Linked DNA regions of Homo sapiens: region 2 is linked to region 1. The links are contacts of gene promoters, found by promoter capture Hi-C in blood cells and fetal thymus (Javierre and others, 2016). All regions are on one chromosome and are shown on one strand. The core of a region is centred on a gene start or on the middle of the fragment in contact, and the rest is flanking DNA. Distances in the headings are between cores, read along the strand shown. Region 1 holds the start of GINM1 (glycosylated integral membrane protein 1). Region 2 overlaps SYNE1 (spectrin repeat containing nuclear envelope protein 1).

The links. The method cuts DNA at HindIII sites, captures the fragments that hold promoters and counts their contacts. A CHiCAGO score of 5 or more calls a contact.
Region 2: a contact is called between a fragment that was not itself captured here and the fragment with the promoter of GINM1 in region 1, in 1 of 17 cell types (neutrophils). The highest score is 5.4, in neutrophils.

Annotation. Positions count from the first base shown.
Region 1 is chr6:149,564,354-149,567,624 of GRCh38, forward strand. GINM1 (glycosylated integral membrane protein 1) reads left to right here and starts at 2,022. Exons shown (of 8, transcript NM_138785.5): 1 at 2,022-2,181. The coding sequence starts at 2,062. RefSeq lists enhancers at 1,189-1,318, 2,569-2,618 and a silencer at 1,749-2,298. The HindIII fragment of the contact is 6,228 bases long and covers 1-3,271 here.
Region 2 is chr6:152,445,276-152,448,546 of GRCh38, forward strand. It overlaps SYNE1 (spectrin repeat containing nuclear envelope protein 1), which reads right to left. Exons shown (of 146, transcript NM_182961.4): 29 at 2,183-2,347. Among named protein-coding and RNA genes, the nearest start is that of SYNE1-AS2, 45 kb to the left of the region's middle. The HindIII fragment of the contact is 1,161 bases long and covers 875-2,035 here.

The DNA of each region.
Region 1 (3,271 bases), core at 772-3,271:
AAATTCCGTAGCGCTCATGGGTGCATGTAGCAAAACAATGGCCTAAAGAGAACCATTTCATACAAAACAGTAAAATTTTTGATTATTAAATAATACTGTCAACCACTTAGACATTATTTGTCCAACAAACCCCCACTGAGGGCTTACTCTAGCAAGCTGTTTGCTTTAAGGTTTGGCCACCCTCTTCCTGGAGCTCACATCTATCTGACGAGACAGATAAACAATAAAGAATAATGGACAGTTAGACCATGGGAAAGGCTTTGTAAGAAAACAGAGAGCCTCAACTTTACCTATTATCTTTTCATATAGACGTACTTTGTAACCTTATATTACTAATTCAAATTATACAGATCCACATGTCATGTTTTCTGACTTCCAGATTCTTTTTTTTTTTTTTGGAGACGGAGTCTCGCTCCACCGCGCAGGCTGGAGTGCAATGGCGCGATCTTGGCTCACTGCAACCTTCGCCTCCTGGGTTCAAGCGATTCTCCTGCCTCAGCCTCCCTAGTAGCTGGAATTACAGGTGCGTGCCAGTATGCCTGGATAATTTTTGTATTTTTAGTAGAGATGGGGTTTCACCATGTTGGCCAGGCTATTCTCGAACTCCTGACCTCAAGTGATCCACCCGCCTCGGCCTCCTAAAGTGTTGGGATTACAGGCGTGAGCCACTGCACCCGGCTTCTAGATTCCTTTTTTTTTTTTTTTTTTTAATAGACTCAGGCGATCCTCCTGCCTGCGTTTGCTGCATAGCTGGGAGTACAGGCACAAATGACCACGCCCATCTCCAAATTCATTTTTAATTCCAGCAGTAGGAAAAAAAGGAAAAGGCCAAGTTTGCAGATGGAACCCAGAAGTGTGTGGGGCTTCGCTGTGAAATCACTTGTAGCTTAACAATGGCGTGGGGAATCTCAGAGTAAGCCCGGAGTTAGTTGAAAGGAGTCTTTAGCCAAAACGTTTATAATTTATTCTGGGGCGGGGCCGGGGGAGGGGGCGGTGGCGGTCAGCAGGCCTGTGGGAGGAGGGTGTTCAAAGGAGTAAAGGGGGCTCAAAGAGAGAAATAGATTCTTGTTTCCTTTTTCATGTCAAAAGTTTTATTTCATGTCAAAAGTTTTATTTCAAAGGAAGACTAAATATTACTCTTATTCTGCCTGAATGGCCAAGTTTCCAAGTTTTTCTCAATCAACATGCAATCCTGTTAATCTAAAATGCTTGAATTTCTTGCTACTCTGCTTTACAGGGTTCCGTAACTTTTTTTTTTTTTTAAATCTGCAAGGTGGAAGAAAAGTCTAACACTTTCACTTTAGAGTTACGATACTGACCAAAAAGGCACTGACAGCCCAGGTGCGCTGGCTTCCTTCCAGCTGAGCGCTGTCCCCGCGCCGCCTCCAGGGGTCGGCAGAATGCTGAACAGTAAGCATGGCGCATCCTCAACCTTGGCCCCACAATGAATCACCCGAGAAAATTAAAAAACCACCAGGGCCCGAGCCGCAGCCCAGGCTGGAAAGTGGGGTGTTCAGGAAGACCCCAGTACTTTTTAAAGCTGCCCGGGAGAGTCCCACGTGCAGCCAAGGGTGGGGAATTACCCACTTAATAAAAACTTCCCCTGTAAATGCGATGTTTCATTTTTAATGTATAACAGTTTTCTGAAATATTACCGTTGTTTTCATCGTATAGGTACATGTACATGTGCACACACAGACACATGCATGTGTGTAAATACTAATTTTAAAAATAATGGTTACGAGGACATTTACATCGCTCCAGTTGGAGTCCTGTCCAATCCTGAGGGCGGGTCTAATGAGGGGCCGTACCTTCCAAGATTTCACTCCGCCCCTCGACGCCGCGCGGCGCTGCGCGTGCGCAAACGCCTTTCCCTGGCGAGCCGGATCTCGGAGCGTCCCCGCGCCTCTCCGCGGCCGCCCGGGGAGGGGAGGGCCCGTCCCGCCCCTCCCCGTCTCTCCCCGCCCCTCCCCGTCCCTCCCGCCGAAGCTCCGTCCCGCCCGCGGGCCGGCTCCGCCCTCACCTCCCGGCCGCGGCTGCCCTCTGCCCGGGTTGTCCAAGATGGAGGGCGCTCCACCGGGGTCGCTCGCCCTCCGGCTCCTGCTGTTCGTGGCGCTACCCGCCTCCGGCTGGCTGACGACGGGCGCCCCCGAGCCGCCGCCGCTGTCCGGAGCCCCACAGGTAGGGCAGGGCGGGCCTGGCTGGCCGCTTTACGACTCCGACTCTCCGGGAGGCCCGGGCTGTCCACAGTGACGCTTCCCACATCCCACCGGCGGGCAGGGGCGGGGGTCCGGGCCCCCGAAGGAGGTGTGGGGAGAAGCACCCCAGGAAATGGGGGCGGCGTGGGAGGCCGAGGTAAGAGGAAAGGGACCCACTGGGGCTGCGTCGCTGTGAGTGAGCCTCGAGCCACTCCACACCGACTCTCCGGCGGCCCAAGCCGGCGCGCGACCTGACGGGGCTTTGCCGTCGAAGCGCGCGGTTGCCGGTGATCAGGCCTTCGTAATGGCGCCTTCCCGGGGTAGAGCCAGCGCTTGGGCAAGGAATGTTTGTGTGCTCGGGAAGTGTGGAAGTTGCCCACTTCGCGCATTTCCAGGCCACTTGTGCCTGCTCGGCCTGCGATCGCGAGGGTCCGCCGTTCCGAGGCTGCGGGGCTCCGCCGGGCTCAGGTGGGCAGAGGGAGAGACCTGGCCCTCGCGCGACGTAATGTTTTTGTCGGATGTTGGAGGAGAAGTTCTCACGGCGGGGCGCGATCGGCGGTGTCCGCATCCCCTGGGGACTCAGCCCGGCCTCTGGGGGCGGGGCCCAGCAGTCCGGGTTGGAGAGTCCTGCAGGTGCTTCTGATGCCAGCTGAGGTGGGAGAATCGAGGCATCCTAACATTAAAACGTGGCTGATGCTCACCATTCCTGCCGTAGAGTCGTGCCTACCTAGGCCAGTATCAGCCTTTTTTCAGTAGAATGGTAGGGAAAAGTTTGAATATTTTAAAGAGCAAGTGTTCTGAGAATGACAAGAAACTATGTCGGTACACCTCTTCCTAGTCAAGACTTGAATATGAACACTCTAAATACAAAGGCGAAGGGCACGGTAAGTGTCACTTTGACCAACAAGGTGAAACCCCGTCTCTACTAAAAATAGAAAAATTAGCTGGGCGTGGTTGCAGGTGCCTGTAGTCCCAGCTACTCGGGAGGCGGAGACAGGAGAATTGCTTGAACCCGGGAGGCAGAGGTTGCAGTGAGCCGAGATCGTGCCACTGCATTCCAGCCTGGGTGAGGG
Region 2 (3,271 bases), core at 205-2,704, 2.9 Mb after region 1:
AATAAAAGAGTATTTGTTATAAATGTGCTTCCAATATTCCTACATAAAAATAAATATAATTTACAATTTTGTAGTCATCTAATGGATTCTCTTCCTTATCATTTCCCTAAATTTTGAATTTTCTTGTCTAATTTCTGCTTCCTCTATTTCAGTTTTACCAACATCCTTTGTTTTCGAAGCCTATCCTTTATCTTCACTAAGATCCTCCTTTTTACATGTTGTCATTTGTTTTCCACAGAAGCCTTCCAGTTTCTTCTTCTTTTATCCTATCTTTTTTCTTTGACTCTCTTCTGATCTAAGTTTTTCCAAGGAGAGCAATCTGTTCTCCAAACAAGCAGCAATGAGACCTTACGAAAACCACAAACTCCCAATTTCAATATAAATCAGAGCAAATCTATTGAAATAATGACTCTTCACTGTATCTTGTGCATCCACCCACAGTCTTTTTTTTTCTTACACTGGACAATTGCAAACACATTGTGTTCAACATTAATTTAAATACTAAATGAATTATTATCAAAGAAAGGGGCTGAATGTGCCACATCCATCTCTTCATACAAATCTATCTGTAAACAAAATGTGTTTTTCTCCTTTCCTCTCTTTCTGCTTTCACTAAGTAAGTGATCAAGTAGTGGAAAAGGGTATTAATATAAATTATGCAGAAGTTTAAGGCAGATGAGTGTGTAAAAAATTAATGTCTGTATGAACATTCATTAGAGAGAGATTCTTACTATAAGTCCTGGGGCAAAATCATGACAGTACTTGGAAGATAAAGCAAATGGCCTTGGTAAATGTTAGGGAAACTACTGACTTCTAACTTTAAAGACAGTCAATTTTTTTTTTTTTTTTTTTTGGTGAGACAAAATATATTACAAGCTTGTCTGTGAATAACGACAAGTATTTGTTTGATCTTGGCTCAAAGATCACCTTCATGTACACTAACTTTTTAGAATGTTGTTTTTGCTTTTCCTGTCACCAAAAGAGGGAAGGAAAGAGCAAAACAGGCAACTGGCTAAATGTGGCCGTTGCTTTGAAAGATGGATAATCAAAGGATTGAAATAGGTTATGTTCCAAAATTTGATTAATCATAGAACTATTTTCAATTTGTCAAAAACTCATAGGGAAACTCTAATTTATATATAAAAATTCTCACATAAAACTAAAATCGTAAGCAGTTCAGAGTATTTTTGGCTTATGTAAATTCAGCACTAGAGTCTCAAGCAGATTTAAATGGATTAAAAACATGAAGGTTAACAGATGAATTGTTAGATGAGAAATCTCTGTGGAGAATTTCAGATTTTCAGAAACAGAGCTTTGTGGTCATTTTCTTGTAATCCATTAGGCCATTTTTCCATGCAAGTTTCTACTTAAATGATTTCAAGAAATACTGGTAAATATCTATTCTACTTTACGTTCTTACATTATCTTCCAAAGCACAAACTTAGATTTATATAAAAACCTGGTCAGTAAAAATATTTTTGCTGATGGTGGAAGTGGCCCTACTGGAAATGAAGTAGATGCGTTTGTATATTTTAATCTATAAAGGAATATAGAAAAACATTAAAATGCATATCAAAGCACTAGGAAGAGAATTTCACTGGCCTGCTGATTAAACACTGAATATTTTATTATTACTAAGAACCAGCTATTGAGCATTTACTCTGTTTCAGGAACTACACTATGTGCTTAACATACATTACTGCATTTAATTCATGATACTTCTTTTTAGAGTGAGTATTTTTAACCCTGTGTTATAAATAAGGAAATCAAGACCTAGATGTTACGTAAGTTGAAGGTTACCTAGGAGGTAGGGTATCACATTTAAACTCTAATCCTGGATTTCTTTGACCCTAAGCCTTATTCTTAGCCTCCATGATTTATCTTAAGCTGACCATAAAATAACAATGCTTTTTATAAGAGTAAAAACAGTGGATTTGACAAGTTTTATATTTCAGATATAGGTCATGAACCTGAACTAACATTTCCAATAATGGCACAGACCATACATCAAACATCCTCTTCATCTTTCCCAACAAGCTTCATACAAAAAAAGCATAACAACAATTCTGTTTCAACTATGGTTTCTTTATAAAATTACTTGCTAAACTACAACCAGAAGAAAAAGAACCTTCCAGATGCCTCACTCAGAACTGTCTGTTTAGAGTGTGAGTAAATGCTGTACCTCTGACAGCAGCGTCACAAGAGCCTTGAAAGAGCTGGATAATTTTGCCAGCTCATCTCCCTGCTTTTGGGCTTCATTCTCAGAAGAAACTTCTGTCAAAACTTTCAGCCTGGATTTCAGCCAGCTGAGGGTCTCACCCCTTTTGGTAACACCATTTCTGATCTCCTGAAATGAGAGAACACTTTTGATGAACACAGTGCAATTGTGAAATCATAACTTTCCAGCAATAAAGGACTCAGCCTAAAAAGGTTTGCAGGTGGAGCAGAATAGAGCCAGACATCATTCAGCAATACAGTGCCTGCTTAGTTTACTTTTTGTATGTACTTTTAACAAAAGTCCACAAGTGCTTGAAAGAAAACTGTTGTCTATTCTTGAATCAGCTTCATAATTAGATTGGTTAGATACTTATAGATATGTCCTTGATGGGAAAAAAGATGATTCTAAAAATACTGTAGAAAAATATGAGACGCCACAATTGGCAACTATAACATACATACACTTTGTTATCTCACTTCCTTTGAGCTGGAAAGAAGATGATATTTTGTGAAAAAATAATGAAAGTTCTTTTTTTCAACCAGCTGATTTCTTTTATTGAAGAGTCTACTTGTTGAATATTGTTATGGATGCTCTAAAGATTTATTTTAACTTCATTAACTTACATTTTCTGCTGAATTTTTATTAGCTTTTAGAAGCCAGTATCCCATATAGCAAGAAGTATAAATGGGAGCACAGCTCTAATTTAGGAAGCGAGGCTTTATTGATAAGAAAATGCTAGAAAGACTCCAGGGCTTCAGACCTTGAAGGGCTGCTGACTGAGGGAGTGGTGACTGGAGCAGCCTGTCCTCCCTACAGCAGTTCTGGGGTGGCTCAAGAGCAGGGGTCCCCAACCAGGGCCACTCCAGGGCTTTGCCAGGGCAAATGCACACCAGCCAGGAAACTGTTGGTTCCAGACCCCAGTGATCTCTTCATTCTAGGATGTGAATTTTTTTTTGTGCGATGCAAGCAACCAGTAGCAAATGTAGATATCCTTCCATATGCATACCATGATATTGAGCACCACTAGCATTTAAGGGGATTGTATAATTTAAT